7 separate regions of the Homo sapiens genome follow, and regions 1, 2, 3, 4, 5 and 6 are each linked to region 7. Evidence: promoter capture Hi-C in 16 types of primary human blood cells and fetal thymus (Javierre and others, 2016). All regions are on one chromosome and are shown on one strand. Each heading gives the region's core, a stretch centred on a gene start or on the middle of the fragment in contact. The rest is flanking DNA. Distances are from core to core; before and after follow the strand shown. Region 1 has its middle 1.8 kb from the start of SAMD7. Region 2 overlaps LRRC34 (leucine rich repeat containing 34). Region 3 overlaps LRRIQ4 (leucine rich repeats and IQ motif containing 4). Region 4 overlaps PHC3 (polyhomeotic homolog 3). Region 5 has its middle 11 kb from the start of PHC3. Region 6 overlaps LRRC34 (leucine rich repeat containing 34). Region 7 holds the start of GPR160 (G protein-coupled receptor 160).

Region 1 (2,700 bases), core at 79-2,578, 130 kb before region 7:
AAAGCCAGAGCCTCCAGCCTGAGGCAGCATCAGGAGACTCAAAGGGCAGTACATGGGCCCTCAACACTCTCTGATACCCCATCCTCCACTTTCCCATCGCCAGGACACGTGTCATCTCACGTGTCATCTTGGGGAAGAAAGGGAGATGAATTAAAAATCCAAAAGAGACAATTTCATCTTGGAAGAGACTATGTTACATGTGAAACATTGTCTCCTTATATTGTTGAATAAGTTGGAATTGACCAGATTTGACTAAATGTAGTCTTCACCTCTTACCCAGAGAGTAGGATTTTGGAGGGATACTAGATCAATTGCAGGAAAGTAAAAAGGCTTTTCTTTGTACAGAGTGTAGGGCGCAAATTTACAACACTCCTGAATGACTAACAAATAATCCCCAAGGCCATTGCTGGTGGCTTATTGTCACCTGTTCCTCTCTTCCGGTGGAGCTTCTTCCAATTAGTCCCAAAATAGCCAGAGACCTGTGGGCCCTCCCACTCCTCCGCACTGTGATCCCTCTCATTTAGTGGGTAATCACCTCCAGAACTGACTGGTTTGTTTGCAACCGGAGGCTGGCTGAGGTGCCCAAGCAGGAGCTGCCTGCCCCCGGCTGCGTTAGGAACTACCCCTTTAGATGTTGCACTGCGGGGAGAGGTTGTCCAGGAGCAACTGGGGTGGGTGAGCAGTTAGGGGCTCAGGGCAGTGGCTATTTTCCAACCGGTGTGGGAAAATGTCAGTATTTTAACAATCGGCATAGCCAGACTGGTATGCACTAACTGAATACAAGGAAGTTCCTACCTTTTCTCTCCCACTTCCAATCAGCCTCAGACTCTAGAAGCCTCTAACTCACCTCATTCCACCTGCCAGAGTTCCTTCTTTAACACAGTCTCAGCCCCACCATCATAGCAGGAGCTTGTGTGGGGAGTAAGAGGAGTAACAACCGCAAGTGAGGGTCTTGGGAACTCACCGGAGCTGAGTCAGGAGTAAATGTCGTTAATGAACCCCACTGATAACACTGATCACATTTTCCAGAGAAACAGAAATATAAATGGTGGCTCTATGTTGGAATGAGTACCGCTGTTACACTGTTAGATTGATGTTTATGGGCTGGTGCAAACCTAATTACTCCTTATGATGTTGCTTCTATGAAAACAATACATTTATAAGTTTCTGTTGAACAATGTATAAGCAAGTCTTTCAGATACAAGCTCTTCTAATATGAGACTACCAGAGTGATTACAAACAAAGTATATGCATTAGGGCGGGGCGCAGTGGCTCACACCTGTAATCCCAGCACTTTGGGAGGCTGAGGTGGGCAGATCACAAGGTTAGGAGATCGAGACCATTCTGGCTAACACGGTGAAACCCCGTCTCTACTAAAAATACAAAAAAAAAAAAATTAGCTGGGCATGGTGGCGGGCGCCTGTAGTCCCAGCTACTCAGGAGGCTGAGGCAGGAGAATGGCGTGAACCCGGGAGGTGGAGCTTGCAGTGAGCTGAGATCACGCCACAGCACTCCAGCCTGGGTGACAGAGTGAGACTCTGTCTCAAAAAAACAAACAAACAACAACAACAAAAAAAAACAAAAACTGTATGCATAAATATTATAAATGCTAATAATTTATGAGACACTTCAAAATGCATATACAACACAAGAAAGACAGTTTAGTAAAAATTAGGGCAAAGGGAAAATAATGTTAGGAAAAATAAGATGAAGCCATAGATCATTTCTGGTTTTAAAATGCATGTCTAGGCTGGGCATGGTGGCTCACGCCTATAATCCCAGTACATTGGGAGGCCGAGGTGGGTGGATTGCTAGAGTCCAGGAGTTCAAGACCAGCCTAGGCAACATGGCGAAAGCCTGTCTCTACAAAAAAATACAGAAAAAAAATTAGCCAGGCATGCGGTCGTGCACCAGTGGTCCCAGCTACTTGGAGGCTACGGTGGGAGGATTGCTTGAGTCTGGGGACATAGAGGCTACAGTGAGCCATGATTGTGCCACTGCACTCTAGCCTGGGTGGCAGAGCAAGAACTTGTCTCAAAAATAAATAAATAAAAATATAATAAAATGCATGCCTAAAGGCAGGTCCTGAACTTCCTACTAACCAACACAAAGAATGCAACACACTAGTTACGTGATTCCTGAGGTTTTATTTTGGCCTTATTTTTCAGAACAACAACAACAACAATAACAACAACAAAACAATTGTCCCTAGTACTACAAGCTGAGAAAAATTCCTCCCATGGATCCTCAACAGAGGACTCTGTGCAATATAGTTACCTAACATAATGGCTAATGTTTAGTGAGAACTATTCAAGCATTTTGTCTACCTTGTTGCCTTCCCTTTCCCAAGAAGGGCTCTTCTGAGATGAGGAAACTAAGGCTCAGAGAAGTTCAGTAACTTGGCCAGGCCATACAGCTAATGAGTGGTGGTGCTGAGGCTTATTGAGTCTGTTGGTCATCTAAGTCCCTGCTGTTGACCACTGCTTTATGAACAATAACCCTGGAATAAATACAGTCAGTTCCACATGCTATTTCTTATAATGAGTTCAACAGCCAATGATAAAAATGTGTGTCAACAAAGGAGCAGGTTACCTTCAAACTGGAAGCCTAAAGCATTACTTGAAACACAACTTAAATTTCTTATATTCAATTCTTATTTTGTACTTCCTACTAGTAAATTACTAGGAATCAAAAAATATG
Region 2 (2,700 bases), core at 201-2,700, 230 kb before region 7:
ACAGGGACTCAAGGTTTCTTTTTTTTTTTTTTTTTTTTCAACTCAGTATCTCAGCATCCACGAGAGGAAAAGGTTTCTTAAAATAGCTTCACATAAAAACAATTTTATCTAATAACCTAACTCAAAAGGGATCTGATAAAGCACCTACTCCCACAAGCTTCTTGGATACCCTCTACACCATCCCAAGTTTGAATGTAACTGTCATTTCTTCATACCAAATCGAGGCCTGGCTCACAGAAGCTCTTCTCCTACCCAGCCTTCCATTTCCTCTTTCTAAAGGTGACTTTTCCCTAAGTTCTTAAGAAGACAGACACAAAGCAGGAGTTGAGATCTCCTTTCTGTTATACATGCAGATTTCCTTAATGACCTTGCTGTTCTCAGTAATACCTCAAAAGCATCTTCTGCAAGGCCTACATCTTCTGGGGTGGAAGTTATGCTGTTACTTTTCTTAGAAGTACAGGCCACTGTCTTTGTTTTCTATACATCTACCTTTTGTGGATGTCTTTTAAAAATTTGTGCACAGAGATCTCATTGCTCAACCAGCCTAGCTTTTTAGGAGCTGGCTTCTCTTCTAAGTCTCTACATCTCAGAAATGTTGTTTACTGAGTGTCCTTTGCACTCTGAAGAATAATGAGTTTGCTAAACGGATCTGCAGAACGAGATTTAACATGAGGAACATTACATTTCAGATGAAAGCAAACAAAATTTTCTTATAGTTTTTAATAACCTTTTTAAAAATAAATTTAATATACTTATTCCAGACAATTTGGAAATTTCTTTTTTTTTTTTTTTTGAGATAGGTTCTTGATCTGCCACCCAAGCTGGAGAGCAGGAGCGCAATCTCGGCTCACTGCAACCTCTGCCTCCCGGGTTCAAGCGATTCTCCTGCCTCAGCCTCCCGAGTAGCTGGGACTACAGGCACACACCACCACACCCAGCTATAAAGACGGGGTTTCACCATGTTGGCCAGGCTGGTCTCAAACTCCTGACCTCAAGTGATCAGCCTGCCTCAGCCTCCCAAAGTGCTGGGATTACAGGTGAGCCACTGAGCCCGACCGGAAATTTCTAACATTAAAAAAAAATACATGTTAATCTGCAATCCCACTGCCAAAGAACAACCACAATTGAGGTCTAGGCATACATACTTCCTATAGTTTTTCTTTTATATGCATATTAAGTATTTTTTAAACAAAATTGGAATCTTTGGATATAACTTTATATGCTGTTTTTTAAATTAACATTATATTGTAAGCAGTTTTCCCATGTCACTAGATATTCTCTGAAAAATTTAAATAGCATAATTTCTGTCATGTGGATAGATGTACGTATTAAAAAAAGCTTCACCTATTTTAGAAAATTTTCATGTATTTAAATGATATTGTAGCACAATATTTCCCAAACTGTATTTTGTGGAATATGCATGTTCTACAGGATGATCAAAGGTGTTCCAAATAGAATAGGTCTTATTATCAAGTAAGTCTGAGAAGTACTAAAATAAACAAAACTATACACAGACACAACACTTCTCAGGGCATTTAAAACGTGCACACTCTGCAAACTGTTAAGCTTGAGAATAGGGAGGATAAGAATGCTGCATTTCCGGCCGGGTGCGGTGGCTTACGCCTGTAATCCCAGCACTTTGGGAGGCCGAGGCGAGCGGATCACTTGAGGCCAGGAGTTCGAGACCAGCCTGGCCAATATGGTGAAACCCTATCTCTACCAAAAATACAAAAATTAGCTGGTGTGGTGGCGCATGCCTGTAGTCCCAGCTACTTCGGAGGCTGAGGCGACAGAATCGCTTGAATGCGGGAGGTGGAGGTTACAAGGTTGCAGTGGGCAGAGATCGCGCCACTGCACTCCAGCCTGGGCGACAGAGGAGACTCCATCTCAAAAACAAAACAAAACAAAAACCTCACTTGGAATGCAATCTAGAAAATGCTGCTTTAGCGTCCTCCCCAGGAAACAAAGCAAGTAGATCCCAAATAGAAGTTGGAGCTGGGCTCCCACTGGGCTTCTTTCTTCCCTACTGTCTTCCTTGGTATTAAGAGAAAAATTGCCCTGAGAATCTCCGAGGGCACAGAAATGTGTCAGACTACAATTCATTTTCGCGAAGGCATGAAGGAATCTTAGACTACGAGCTAAATACAGCTAAACAAAGTTATGGAAATATTCTTATTTAACAAGCTAGCCAGAGATTTACAGTATTTAAAAGTTTCTGCTACCCTTCCTTTGATTTAAAATTCACCTACGTATTTTGTATGCCAGGATTTTGTGGCACCAATGAATTTATTTCCTATATTGTATTCATATTAGAAGGAAAATAGCCTTCAAATTGTAAAGCAAAAACTAGGAAATAACCCAGCTACGCAGGAAAATGTCAAGAACCTAACCCAAATTTCATTTTTTCATCCACGCCTCTGGCAGCCACGTTTTAACAATTTCCAGAGAGAGGACTTACTTAGGAGGTAGATCCCTCCAAAACATGCTTTTCTATACTTAGCCAAGCACTGGGAAATCTAAGCGATAAGCATGAGTCAGAACGTGGGTGCCCTATCCAGAATCCGCAGTGTGTACATTTGAACAAGTTGTTATGCCAGCTTAAATTTCCTCTCATGCTAAAGGCAGAGCCTAACACTGCCCATCTCCTGGATGCAGTATTATTAAGCCAGCCTCCGAACACAGTTCCGTATCCACAAACAG
Region 3 (2,700 bases), core at 108-2,607, 210 kb before region 7:
TATGGGGTTTTAAAGCTGCCTTTCAGGAAGTAAACATTTTGATGGTAACTTGTAGATTTAGGTCGAGATTCTAGGACTTAATCTCCACTGATGTAGCAACTCACCTTGGAGGATTTTTGAGGTTCCGTGAGAGCCCGGCCCTGAACTATTCCACTGCTGATGTAAGAAATTCCTTTTAGTGGACTAAGTCAGTCATTCTGCAGTTGGAGTGAAAGACTTAAAATATAAAGTACATGTGGGAGGGATAACACATTATACTGAGCCATGAATAATACCTAATCCTTTTCTGAGAGAAATTTTAAGAAATCAAAGGAGCAAATCACACACAGACTGCTTGTTAACAAAAATAAGCTTCATCCAATACCAAGTTTTAGCACAAGTCAAACTGCACTGAAATGTAGACATGTTAAATATTATTGTATTGAACATGACAATCTCTGTGTACCAGTGCTTTTTCCTCTTCAGTTATTCTGATGGGTTTTGTGTGTGTGTGTGCATTTGTCCTCCCTTCTCAATTTCCTCTTATGCTAATACCACCTTCCAATGCATTTCTCTCCTCAATGAAACATGGCCTTTAAGCCAGCTCATTATCTCTCCCTCCCCAAAGACTCAACTCATGGGTTACTAGCTCTTAAAGCCTAACCAGTAGCTTCTACTTGCCTGTGTGCATGCAAAAAATATCTGATTTTCAATGTGTACCTAGATGGATTTTATTTGTAGAGTATACTTCTATTAAAGGAGAAAAGCAGGCCACGTGCGGTGACTCACGCCTGTAATCACAACACTTTGGGAGGATGAGGCGAGTGGATCAACTGAGGTCAGGAGTTTGAGACCAGCCTGGCCAACGTGGCGAAACCCCATCTCTACTAAAAATACAAAAATTAGCCGGGCATGGTAGTGGGCACCTGTAATCCCAGCTACTCGGGAGGTTGAGGCAGGAGAATCGCTTGAACCCAGGAGGCAGAGGTTGCAATGAGCCAAGATTGTACCATTGCCGTCCAGCCGAGGCAAGAAGAGTGAAACTCCGCCTCAAAAAAAAAAAAAGAAAAAGAAAAAGGAAAAAACCAAAACAATGTACCAGATCCCAAAATGGCTATATGTCAGTTACAGTGTCATCAGTAATTGTCCTCATCTAATGCTCTACAGATTTTCTATACATCTAGATTTCTTCTCATTATACTTTACTATGACTATGATGAAACTAACTACTGGATCTTAAATACTCCTAAAAAAAATTTTTGAACATTCAATGTGCTTTGAAAAAGAAAAGCTAAGCTTTTATGAGTTAAGTGAACAGCAATAAGAATGAAATTTCTAGGTTATAATAAAATGGTTAGATTGAAAAATCTTTTTTCATTGTTTTGGACTGCACAGAATGCAGGCATTTTGTATTGAAGACATCTAAGTGCTTGATGAAGAATTTTGAAATAGCCAAAGAGGAAAGCTTAAACATCAGTTTCTCCAAAGATTGACTTCATCTAATTAAAATAAATAGGTAAATAAATAAAACTGGAAAACTGTTACAGCATTTTTAGGAAAATGAGTCCTTACTCTACACAAAAAAGAGAAAAATGCATTATGGAAGATTCCAAGTATGTGAAACTTTTACAGATAGGTTGTCCTCAGTGAACTTTCTTTTTCTCCAACTGTAAGTGACCCATTCACCAATTACCTGTCTATTCCACCCATCCATAGAGAGGTGGGGGTGGGAGTGGCTCAGCTGAGCTCTAGCCAGAATGAAAGTAGGGTGGCTGACTAGGGAATGGATGGGAAGAATGCCCATGGGCTCAAGCAGGGAACTGTGGGGAAGGATTTCCCAGTTAGGAATTAAGCCAGATAAAGGAACATATGAGTTAAGGAGCTGTTGAGCTATATAGCTGGGATTTTTTTCTACGAGAAAATAAGGCATCTCTGTAACACAGTCAATAGGGTGATTGTCACATATTTTAAGAATGAGATTTTTTCGCCGGGTGCGGTGGCTCATGCCTGTAATCTCAGCACTTTGGGAGGCCTAGGCGGGCGGACCACGAGGTCAGGAGATCGAGACCATCCTGGCTGACATGGTGAAACCCCGTCTCTACTAAAAATACAAAAAATTAGCCGGGCGTGGTGGTGGGCGCCTGTAGTCCCAGCTACTCGGGAGGCTGAGGCAGGAGAATGGCGTGAACCCGGGAAGCGGAGCTTGCAGTGAGCCGAGATCGCGCCACTGCACTCCAGCCTGGGCGGCAGAGCGAGACTCCGTCTCAAAAAAAAAAAAAAAAAAAAAAAAGAGATTTTTTTCCCATGTGGTCTCCCATGGTCCAGAAAGAAACCGATAGACGGACATAATGGTGAAGCTGATTTTGGCTGTACTAAAGTAGGAAATCTGATGATTAGAAGTAGCCATAGAAGATAATGAGCTTTTCTTCACAGGAGGTGGTGTTTAGATAAAACTGGATGGCTCGCTATAAAAAGTATGCAAGCACTGTATTAGAAGGTTGAAATAGAGAACCTTCTTAAGGCGTTCCAGCCCTGAAAGTGTGGCACTCTGTGAAATGCCGACCCAGTTCCCACACAGGTTACACAAGCCTGGGTATTCACTGAAAAGCAGAACATGACACGATAGGATCATAATGGAGTTCACTGAACACTGATTAGAAATGGTGTGAATATATGTTTGCCTCCAACTGAGATTTCAACTGAAGTTTCAAAATTATTAAA
Region 4 (2,700 bases), core at 117-2,616, 130 kb after region 7:
TTCCCAATATATATGTGCAATATAGCGAATCAGCTTTCTTTTACTCCTTTCTCAAAATAAATTACCCTATCTTGAATGGATACTTGCAAATTGAACCCAAATAACTCATGTAAGCTGAAAGTATAATTTCTAAAATGTGAATTGCACAAAGTTAGAAATGCTTAGATGTCTACCAAGGACATGACATACTATTGTATATCACAGTAAATTCATGGCCAATATCCCTGCATTGTATATTTTAGGCTTTCAATACACACAGAAAGCTGAAACCACATAAGATCTGAACATGATCAGTGCAAATGGATATACAAGAAATAATACAAAAAGATTTTTTTAAGACTCAGATTTTCATAAGTTTAACATTAGTTCTGAATTCTTGAATTTTATCATTTCTATTTCTGGGCAATTGTTACTTTAAACAGCATGCAACAAATTATAATAACAGCTTCATAAATAACAACAGTTTACTTTTGGAAAACAATTCTTTAAAATTTTAAATCCAGGAAAAAAAAATTTAGGGAACTTACAGACGTTTGGGACATACTTGACTGCTGTGTGACACTTCCTGTGGGAGATGTAGATGGTCTTCCACTGGACAAACTTGCCTAAAATAGTAAGACTTTTAGAATATGTCGGTAAAAACCTGAAGTTAAGAACTTTCTGGTACCATGATAACACAAAACCACAACAATAAATGTCAAAAGGCCTATGTATGAAACAACTAATTTTATAGTCAACATGGCTTAAGCTTCGGTTAAACAGATTTTTTAAATAAGGAAAAGCTGAATGGTGAAAACAGGGGATCCAAAGACTAATCTTATTTTATTAGCTACTTTATTGTCAGTTTCACTTTATGGGTCTCTGTCATCTTTAAAGTGGAATCACTACTCCAGAGTTATGAAAAAGAAATTAGAGCTACAGCAAGAGCCAGTGAGTGGGTTTCAGTTTCCTAACTTGTATCACAAACATGTTATTTAAAAATTACACTACTAAGAAGCAACAGCTGAGAATCTGTTGGTAACAGAAATAAACCTTTTTCAGGTTCAGTCAATTGAGATCCTCCTCTGGTGAGGGGATTTAAGATTAAATCTTACACAGCTTTATTTAAATAGTACAATAGTAACAAAAATCTTTTTTAAAAACAAGCATTTAATAATGAAATCCTGTTATCAGTAGGAATAATATGATTGGATTTTAGAAAAATGGATATACCTATCTTTGTATAAAAAATTTCTGGAGAAATATGTATTAGATTGTTACTGTGGCCACCTTTGAAGAACGGGAAACAGTGATAGACAGGGAAAAGGAACAGCTTTACTTTATCTCTTATAAACAACTTAATATTGTTTGATTTTTTAATGAGTATAATTACTTATATAATTTTTTTAATCTTATTTTTAGTAAAAATACAATTTATGTAAGCCTAAGTACTCACTGTTGTACCTAGAACTTTATACACATAAACTAGCATAGCATTTCTTCAATCTGGATAAAAAGCACTGAGACAAAAGCTAGAAACAGAGTAACATAAAAAAACATATCCCCTTTTTCTCAATTAACTTCTATTCGGCAACCTATTAATATATTTCCTCCGGGAAAAATAACCACAGGACATCTGAGAACTCTGAAATAATACCCAATCTATTTATTTTCAGTAACTACCTACAGATAACAGAAACTTTGATCTCATAAACTCTTATTTTAGTCTTACCTGAACAGCAGCAAGGCTCTGAAGCTGGGAGCTGCTTAAATGCTGCTGCTGAAGAGCTGCAGTATGCAGCATCAAGTGCTGTTGTTGGGCTGCATACATTTGCTGAAGGTACTGAGCAGCTGAGCTGGGGGGCCGATGCAATGCCTGTTGAATTACCTGTGATAAGTCAATTGAACCAATGTCAAACCATAATCTCAACCTTTATCTTAATCAGAAAATCAAAGTATAAAAAAGTGGCAGTTTAAAATTTCACTGCTTTAATACATAATATCATCAAGCTTATTAACATTATTTCTTTCCTAGTTACATATCACTAGAAATCACTAACTTGTACACATTAAAACTACCCAGTGGGCCGGGCACGGTGGCTCACGCCTGTTAATTCCAGCACTTTGGGAGGCCGAGGTGGGCGGATCACAAGGTCAGGAGATCAAGACCATCCTGGCTAACATGGTGAAACCCCGTCTCTACTAAAAACACAAAAAATTAGCCAGGCATGGTGGCACATGCCTGTAGCCCCAGCTACTCGGGAGGCTGAGGCAGGAGAATCGCTTGAACCTGTGAGGTGAAGGCTGCAGTTGAGCCAAGATCATGCCACTGCACTCCAGCCTGGGCGACACAGCAAGACTCCCATCTCAAAAAAAAAAAAACAAAACAAAACCCAGTGGACAATTCGCAAAAGACAGGCCAGGCCAACTAAGCATTTCAAAAGATTTTCAATCTCACCAGTAGTCAAAAACTTACAAATTAAAACAAGATACTGTTTTCCAACTTTCAGATGGATAAAGATTTAAAAGAATACTACTACTACCTGGGGAAACCAATACTCCCATATTGCTAGTAAAAATTCAAGTTGGCATAACCTTTTTGGATAAAACTTCGTAGAATTCAGGGCTTGGGTGTGGAGAGAAATACCTTTACCATGCAACCATAACAAATAGTAATGTAGATCAGTGCTGTCCTATACAGTAACAACTAGTCACATGTGC
Region 5 (2,700 bases), core at 193-2,692, 150 kb after region 7:
AACCTTACAAGCCAGAAGGGATTGGGATCCTATCTTCAGCCTCCTTAAACTGAGTAACAGTCAGCCAAGAATTATTATTATTATTATTATTATTTTAGACAGAGTCTCGCTCTGTCGCCCAGGCTGGAGTACAGTGGCACGATCTCGGCTCACTGCAACCTCTGCCTCCTGGGTTCATGTGATTATCTTGCCTCAGCCTCAAAAGTAGCTGGGATTACAGGCATGCACCACCATGCCCTGCTAATTTTGTATTTTTAGTAGAGGCGGGATTTCACTATGTTGACCAGACTGGTCTCGAACTCCTGACCTCATGATCCACCCACCTCAGCCTCCCAAAGTGTTGGGATTACAGGCGTGAGCCACCACGCCCAGCAAGAATTTTTTTTTGAGAGGGAGTCTTGCTTTGTCACCCAGGCTGGAGTGCAGTGGCACCATCTCGGCTCACTGCAAGCTCCACCTCCTGGGTTCACGCCATTCTCCTGCCTCAGCCTCCCCAGTAACTGGGACTACAGGCACCCGCCACCACACCCAGCTAATATTTGTATTTTTAGTAGAGACGGGGTTTCACCGTATTAGCCAGGATGTTCTCGATCTCCTGACCTTGTGATCCACCCACCTCGGCCTCCCAAAGTGCTGGGATTACAGGCATGGGCCACCAAGCCCGGCCCATTAAGAATTTTTTTTTAAGGCAGGGTCTCACTCTCTTGCCCAGGCTGGAGTGGAATGGCACGATCATGGCTCACTGCAACCTCAACCTCCCTGGGCTCAGGTGACCCTCCCACTTCAGTGCATCCCACCACACATGGCTAATTTTTGTATTTTTTGTACAGATGGGGCTTCACCATGCTGCCCAGGCTGCTCTTGAACTCCTGAGCTCAAGTCATCTCCCATCTTGGCCTCCCAAAGTGCTAGGATTACAGGCATGAGCCACCACGCCCAACCTAGCCAACGATTTTGTATGTAGCAAAACTAAGTTTCATAAATAAAGGAGAAATAAAATCATTTTCAGACAAACAAATGCTTAGGGAACTTGTCACTACCAGACCAGCCCAACAAGAAATGCTAAAAGCTGTTCTAAATCCTGAAACAAAAGGCTGATATGCACTAGAGTAGAACCTCTTGATGGCATAAAACTCATGGGGCATATAAAACAATAACACAGTGAATAAAACAAAGTATCTAGGTAACAAATAACATGATGACTGGAACAGTACCTCACATCTCTCTTTTTTTTTTTGAGATGGAGTCTCACTCTGGCGCCAGGCTAGAGTACATTGGCACAATCTCGGCTTACCGCAACCTCTGACTCCCTGGTTCAAGCAATTTTCTGCCTCAGCCTCCCGAGTAGCTTGGATTACAGGTGCCTGCCACCATGCTCAGCTAATTTTTGTATTTTTAGTGGAGACGGGGTTTCCCCATGTTGGCCAGGATGGTCTCCATCTCTTGACCTCGTGATCTGCCCGCCTCAGCCTCCCAAAGTGCTGGGATTGCAGGCATGGCCTTTTTGGGTTTTTTTGTTTTTTGCAGGGAGGGGACAGGGTCTTGCTCTGTCACCTGGGCTGGAGTGCAGTGGTACAATCTTGGCTCACTGTAACCTCCACCTCCTGGGCTCAAGTGGGCTTCCCACCTCAGCCTCCTGAGTAGCTGGGACTATAGGTGTGCACCATCACACCCAGTTAAGTTTGTGTGTGTGTGTGTGTGTGTGTGTGTGTGTGTGTGTATTTTTTGTAGAGATGGGGTTTCGCCATGTTGCCCAGGCTGCTCTGGAATTCCTGGGCTCAAGTAATTCTTCCACCTCAGCTTCCCAAAGTGCTAGCATTATAGGTGTGAGCCACCACCATACCCAGCCTCAAATCTCAATATTAATGTTGAATGTAAACAGCCTAAATGCTTCACTTAAAAGATACAGATTGGCAGAATGGGTCTAAAAATTGCAAACCAAATATCTGTTGTCTTCAAGGGACTTATATAACACATAAAGATTCAGATAAACTCAAGGTAAAGGAGTGGATAAAGATATTCCATGCAAATGGAAACCCAAAGCAAGCAGGAGTAGCTATTCTTCTATCAGATAAGATAGACTTTAAAGCAACAACAGCCAGGTGTGGCAGTTCACACCTGCAATCTCAGCCCTTTGGGAGGCTGAGGCAGGAGGATCCCTTGAACCCAGGAGTTCAAGACCAGCCTAGGCAACACAGCAAGACCCTGTCTCTATGAAAAAATTTAAAAATTAGCCTGGTGTGGTGGTGTGTGCCTGCAATCCCAGCTAATGAGGAGGCTGAAGTGGGACAATCACTTGTGTGTCGTAGGTTCAGGCTGCAGTGAGCTGTGATCATCCCACTCTACTCCTGCCTGAGCAATAAAGCCAGACCCTGTCTCAATAAATAAATAAGTAAATAGCAACAACAGTAAAAAAAAAAAAAAAAAGGACAAAGAAGATAATTATATAATGATAAAAGGATCAATCCAACAAGAAGATATTACAATCCTAAATTCATATGTACCAATACTGGAGCTCTAAGATTCATAAAACATTTACTACTGGACCTAAGAAATGAGATAGACAGCAACACAATGATAGTGGGGCACTTCAACACTCCACTCGCAGCATTAGACAGATCATCAAGACAGAAAGTCGGCAAAGAAAAAAATGGATTTAAAACTACACTCTAGAACAAATGGACCTAACGGATATTTACA
Region 6 (2,700 bases), core at 46-2,545, 240 kb before region 7:
CACCCCACTGTAAGCTCAAGGTAAGCCTACTTGCTTCTCCTTCAGCCATCTTCTGAATCTCCCTTTGGGGGAATATGGGAACTTGTGGGTCTCTTCTATAGCACACAGGAAGAGACAGTAGCCTGGGAAATCAAACTCTTTCCAGAATCTGGTAGACATCCTACTACCCAGCATGTGAGGAATACTACAAAGCAATGAAAAGTGAACAGACTACTGCTACATGAAACAACATAAATGAATCATACTAATATAATGTTGAACAAAAGAAGCCAGACACAAAGAGAGTGTATACTGTATGCTTCCATTTATATAAAGGTCAAGAACAGGCAAAACTACTCTGTGGGGTTAGAAGTCAGGATAGTGGTTATGAGAGGAGAGTGGGAGAGCTGGCAGCACTGGCTTGTTGGGAAAGGGGTATGTATATGTTTATATATATTTGCCTGTATTTATGAAATTGTTAGTAACACCTGTCTGTAACACGTAAATAGGATAGGTAGAATACTTTTTCAACTTCTGAACTTTGAAACCCTTTGAAAGTCACTGGTAATTTTCTACCACAAACCTTTTTATTAATACTACTTAATAACTTTCAGTTAGATACCTACAATGACCTTTACTTGTACGCTATTTCACTACTTGGTTATATTTTCATTATAAAAAGAAATTTAGTCTAGTTCCTTGGTCTCTTTCTCCAGGGTTAGAATTTTAGTCTCTATATTGTAAAATTTCTTTTAAAAAATTACCCTACTCAGTTTTTCACAATAGACAGTTATACAAAGTTTAATACAGTCATTATCTTTTACACATTTGAAAAAAGTAACTTGTTTTAATTTATAAAAGAAAATAGGCTATAGAATATTAATCTCTGTGAAACAATAAGACAAGTGTATGAAAATTATTTTACAGCTACTTTTTCATGGCTGTTGACCTACTGGAACAAGAGCAAAACCTGCATTAGATGAGTGGTCATAAGATTCTCCATAAGTTGATGTCCAATAATAATGCTTTTTAAGGCCATTGGAGACTTCTGCAAGATATACACGTCCATCTACCACAAATGGCTCCACATCTGTATTGTCTGGTTTTAGACAACCCATTTGAATTAAGTCTGAATATGCCTAGGATTTTTAGGAAAAAAACTATATCATTAAGAAAAAATGTATTCAATTTACAGTGCTTACGGAAATTTAAATATTCAAATTAGCTGTGCTAATTTGTAGTTTAAAATAAAATATTCTGAATAACATTGCTGAATTTTAATATTTTCCAGGTATTGTAAATAGATTTTTATTCATTTAATTACACAGAATGAAATTATAATATTGCAAAACTTATTTCTAACTTTTAATGTATTAGACATGTTTTGTCATTTTGTGACTCCTAGAGTTGATTTTCTATACTACCAATTTTGTGGACCAAAGCTCCTATGGTCAAAATTTTCAAGTCCCACAGATGTTCATAAATTGGAATAGGTAGGGGGGCTCGGTAGGAGGCCTATTGTATACATTCTCAAAAATCTGCTGATAGCTAGTTACCCATTCCTCAGAAAAATTAAGGGAATCCCAGATTTGGACATACAATTATATAGAGTTCATGACCCCCCTGAATCTAATCTACAGATTTAGGCTAAAACAGACAATTCCATAGTATTGGATGCGGACCTATTAATTATTTCTTCATTGTAGAATTTTTATACTTTTTTTTTTTTTTTGAGACAGAGTCTTGCTCTGTCGCCAAGCTGGAGTGCAGTGGCACGATCTCGGCTCACTGCAACCCCTGCCTCCTGGGTTCAAGAGATTCTCCTGCCTCAGCCTCCCGAATAGCTGGGACTACAGGCCCAGCGCACCACCACACCCAGCTAATTTTTGTACTTTTAGTAGAGATGGGGTTTCACCATGTTGGCCAGGATGGTCTCAATCTCTTGACCTCGTGATCCCCCCGCCTTAGCCTCCCAAAGTGCTGGGATTACAGGCATGAGCCACGATCCTTAGTATCTATGTAACAGAGTCATACAAATACGTTGAACTGGTTTGTCAGTAAGGTTGGCAATATGGAGAAAGATGGAAATTTAGACATTAAAAGATTTAAAAGTCAAGTTGGTTTTTGCTTTAGCTTGTCATTCATCATTAGTTCCAGTTCCAGACTCAACTTATTCAGCTACTGATGTGTAGAACCTAAAGAATTATGGATGTTTTTCTAAAAGTAAGGGTTGGTTTTTTTGGGAGGGTGGTTTAGACAACACTCTATGTTTTATTACTCTTTTTAGTGGTGGAATTTTTGTTAGTCCTTTTGCAAATTTTGAGAATTTTAACATCTACTTTTTCCCCCTCGTTCTTTCCAAATGAAAACTGTTACCATTATTTCTGTTTTGAAAGTAGTATCAAAGGCTGTCTGTATTTATGTGAGCAACATGCCAAATATTTTGATAGCTTGTACTCTATCTCTCCCATTCCATATTTTGGTATAATTATTAGGGAGCAGATCAGAAATTTTGCTACATCTGATCAATAATTATGATTTTTCTTAACCTTAGAGGAATTAGAACTGTGTCATTCAGTGATGTGTAATACTAATACATAGTTTTAATATCTTTGGTTATTTGAACCACCAAACTCTCTAGTAGTTAATTTTAAGACTTATGTTAATTATCAAAACTGCAGTGTCTCACTGTGTAACCATTTCTGAGGCACCTGTAAATAA
Region 7 (2,700 bases), core at 133-2,632:
AAAAAAAAAAGACTGACATTGTGGAGAGATACAAACGTGTATGGACATGGTCATCTTTAATCTCTAACTGCTATGACACTCAGAGAGGTTGAGAGGCTCAGGACACTCCCCTTGTTCAAGGCTCTGCGTGAAGAGGAGAAGGAAGAAATTGTGCAATATTTTATTTTATTTTATTTGTTTCAGATGAAGTCTGTCTCTGTTGCCCAGGCTGGAGTGTAATGGCGTGATCTTGGTTCACTGCAACCTCTGCCTCCTGGGTTCAAGTCATTCTCCTGCCTCAGCCTCCCAAGTAGCTGGGACTACAGGCATGTGCCATTACGCCCAACTAATTTTTGTATTTTTAGTAGAGGCAGGGTTTCACCATGTTGGCCAGGCTGGTCTTGAACTCGTGACCTCAAGTGATCCACCCGCCTCGGCCTCCCAAAGTGCTGGGATTACAGGCTTGAGCCACTGCGCTGGCCTAATTGTTCGATATTTTAAATGTTTAAATGACCGGCAAGTCGTAGGTGCTCAACAAATATTTGTTGAATGACAACAAATTAGCACTGTTGACACAAAAAAGGCAATGCAATATATGGGCTATTTAATATTTGCAGATTTTTATTTAAAAATCTGAATTCACAGTACACTGCAGGCGGTTGCTTAGAAGCATACAAGTTTCAAGAAGTTCTGTCACCCTGTGTATACTCTTTTTTTTTTTTTTTTTTTTTTTTTTTTTTTTTTTTGATACGGAGTCTTGCTGTTGCTGCCCAGGCTGGAGTGCAGTGGTGCGGTCTTAGCTCACTGCAACCTCCGCCTCCTGGGTTCAAGCGATTCTCGTGCCTCAGCTTCCCAAATAGCTGGGATTACAGGTGCGTGCCACCAAGCCCGGCTAATTTTTGTATTTTTAGTAGACATGGGGACCAACGTGGACCATGTTGGCCAGGCTGGTCTCAAACTCCTGACCTCAAGTGATCCGCCCACCTTGACCTCCCAAAGTGCTAGGATTACAGGCATGAGCCACCGCCTGGCCACCCTGTGTAAACTCTTATCTGGAGACAACTGCCAAGTTTACATTTGCAGAGGTAAGGGAAGGAGAGGCCCTGACCCAGTGGCCCCCGCTCGCCCGCCTGCTGGGGAGATGGGGAGCTCCTAGGACAGGGGCCGGGTCCTCAAGATGTGGCATGAGGAAGGGGGTCTCACTGAGCCCCCAAGCGGCTCCCGCACTGCGCACCCCTGGCTGCGTCCCTCTGCCAGCCTCAACTCAGCCCTCTCCTAGCCGGCGGGGGGTGACAGTCTCTGTGATATCTTTCCGTCCCGCCGGCAGGCGGCGCCCTCCGGCCCTTGTTTCGTTGGGCCCGGACGGGACGTGCGCGCTCAAAGGTTGCCCGTCTCTGACGCCCGCATTTCCTGGTCTGGAGCCGGCTGAGCCACAGCAGGGTCGCCGCGGGGTCCCGGGGCCGTGCTCCCCTGCCCCTCCCGGGAGCGCGCGGGGCGGGGCGGGGCGGGGCGGGACCAGGCGGGCGAGCTGGGCCCTCGCCCCTCCCTCGGGCGGTCACCTGGGCACGGGCGCTGCAGGTGTCGGGGCCTCAACCTTGCGGAGCCGACAGCCATCGATCCTCGGGTGAGTGCGGGCGCAGGTGGAGGGCGCCCGGCGCTCTCGCCACCGGCGTCCCAGCCTCGGGGCGGCGAACGGTCCCCGCGCCGCTCCCAGCCTCCCTGGCCGGGCGTTCAGCGCGCCTGGGAGGGGAAGGAATTTCCTTTGCAGGAACTCAGGGGCTGGGGGTTCTCTGCTACTTAAGAGATCCAGGAGTGGAGCCCGGACGCCCGAGCCTTCCTGCTTCGGGATGGGGATTACCGCGGAGCCTTAGCAACTGGGGTCTGTCGTGGGTTTGAGGGCAGGGGGTCTGGGGAATGGGCGTGTCCCGCACCCAGAGACTCGCCACCCTCTCTCCAGGGGAGATGCTTTTTAAACATGACAAACCCAGCAAGGTTATAGAAATGGGTGTATGCAACTCTTCGCTCTTTCCTGGCGCCCAGAGGTGAATAGTCTCACACACACGCGCGCGCGCGCGCGTGCGTGCATTCATTGGGGCCGACTTTGCCTCCCCTCCCCTGGCCTCGAGCGTTGGGGACGGCGCCCCCGCCCGCGCCCGCCACTGGGATTAAGCCCCAGGGCCTTGCCCGGCTATTTGTTTTCCGAGGCCGTTGCGTCCGGGTAGGTTCCTGGATGACCATCCTGGCTGGCTCAAAATTCCCTCTAGATTACCTGCGACCACCCCCAGGAACCCGGAGACTGAAACTCCTTTTCTCACCTGCGCAGGTGGCCTCGAGGTGGTGGCAGGGCCGCCCCCTGCAGTCCGGAGACGAACGCACGGACCGGGCCTCCGGAGGCAGGTTCGGCTGGAAGGAACCGCTCTCGCTTCGTCCTACACTTGCGCAAATGTCTCCGGTAAGGGGAAGTGTCGCTTAAATCCCAGAGATAACCCCCACCGAGAAGCATCACAAAAGACATGAACGAGTGTTTAGCTCTCAGGATTGTTATTGCTTCGAGTGAAATGGTTTCTTGTGTGCTTTTGTGCATTTATATATAAATATAAACATATATGTATACATTTGACAAGCTCTAAGACCGGCACTTGTGATATCTCCAGAATAGAGTTATTATAGTTATTTGGAAATTGTCAGTGAGGATCAGCTTGGTTGCTATGCGAATTGCAG

Evidence for each region. The method cuts DNA at HindIII sites, captures the fragments that hold promoters and counts their contacts. A CHiCAGO score of 5 or more calls a contact.
Region 1: a fragment that was not itself captured here is called in contact with the fragment with the promoter of GPR160 in region 7 in 1 of 17 cell types (total B cells); the score reaches 6.8 in total B cells.
Region 2: a fragment that was not itself captured here is called in contact with the fragment with the promoter of GPR160 in region 7 in 7 of 17 cell types (total B cells, naive B cells, naive CD8 T cells and 4 more); the score reaches 12.4 in total B cells.
Region 3: a fragment that was not itself captured here is called in contact with the fragment with the promoter of GPR160 in region 7 in 11 of 17 cell types (total B cells, naive B cells, erythroblasts and 8 more); the score reaches 13.1 in total B cells.
Region 4: a fragment that was not itself captured here is called in contact with the fragment with the promoter of GPR160 in region 7 in 6 of 17 cell types (neutrophils, total B cells, naive B cells and 3 more); the score reaches 8.1 in neutrophils.
Region 5: a fragment that was not itself captured here is called in contact with the fragment with the promoter of GPR160 in region 7 in 1 of 17 cell types (neutrophils); the score reaches 6.3 in neutrophils.
Region 6: a fragment that was not itself captured here is called in contact with the fragment with the promoter of GPR160 in region 7 in 2 of 17 cell types (total B cells and naive B cells); the score reaches 7.1 in total B cells.

What each region holds. Positions count from the first base shown.
Region 1 is chr3:169,908,410-169,911,109 of GRCh38, forward strand. No RefSeq gene overlaps it. Among named protein-coding and RNA genes, the nearest start is that of SAMD7, 1.8 kb to the right of the region's middle. The HindIII fragment of the contact is 3,064 bases long and covers 1-2,700 here.
Region 2 is chr3:169,809,182-169,811,881 of GRCh38, forward strand. The region is part of intron 1 of LRRC34 (leucine rich repeat containing 34); the gene reads right to left. Among named protein-coding and RNA genes, the nearest start is that of LRRIQ4, 2.3 kb to the right of the region's middle. The HindIII fragment of the contact is 228 bases long and covers 1,337-1,564 here.
Region 3 is chr3:169,825,362-169,828,061 of GRCh38, forward strand. All of the region lies in intron 2 of LRRIQ4 (leucine rich repeats and IQ motif containing 4), which reads left to right. Among named protein-coding and RNA genes, the nearest start is that of LRRC34, 14 kb to the left of the region's middle. The HindIII fragment of the contact is 169 bases long and covers 1,274-1,442 here.
Region 4 is chr3:170,170,846-170,173,545 of GRCh38, forward strand. It overlaps PHC3 (polyhomeotic homolog 3), which reads right to left. Exons shown (of 15, transcript NM_024947.4): 3 at 1,712-1,867; 4 at 528-605. Among named protein-coding and RNA genes, the nearest start is that of PHC3, 9.5 kb to the right of the region's middle. The HindIII fragment of the contact is 1,241 bases long and covers 747-1,987 here.
Region 5 is chr3:170,191,389-170,194,088 of GRCh38, forward strand. No RefSeq gene overlaps it. Among named protein-coding and RNA genes, the nearest start is that of PHC3, 11 kb to the left of the region's middle. The HindIII fragment of the contact is 3,214 bases long and covers 1-2,700 here.
Region 6 is chr3:169,792,721-169,795,420 of GRCh38, forward strand. LRRC34 (leucine rich repeat containing 34) reads right to left here. Exons shown (of 11, transcript NM_001172779.2): 11 at 283-1,118. The coding sequence ends at 915. Among named protein-coding and RNA genes, the nearest start is that of LRRIQ4, 19 kb to the right of the region's middle. RefSeq lists an enhancer at 1,565-1,709 and a cis regulatory region at 1,637. The HindIII fragment of the contact is 5,168 bases long and covers 1-2,700 here.
Region 7 is chr3:170,036,613-170,039,312 of GRCh38, forward strand. It overlaps GPR160 (G protein-coupled receptor 160), which reads left to right and starts at 1,383. Exons shown (of 4, transcript NM_014373.3): 1 at 1,383-1,603; 2 at 2,303-2,431. RefSeq lists silencers at 1,358-1,837, 2,148-2,197, 2,358-2,407 and an enhancer at 2,263-2,700. The HindIII fragment of the contact is 12,490 bases long and covers 1-2,700 here.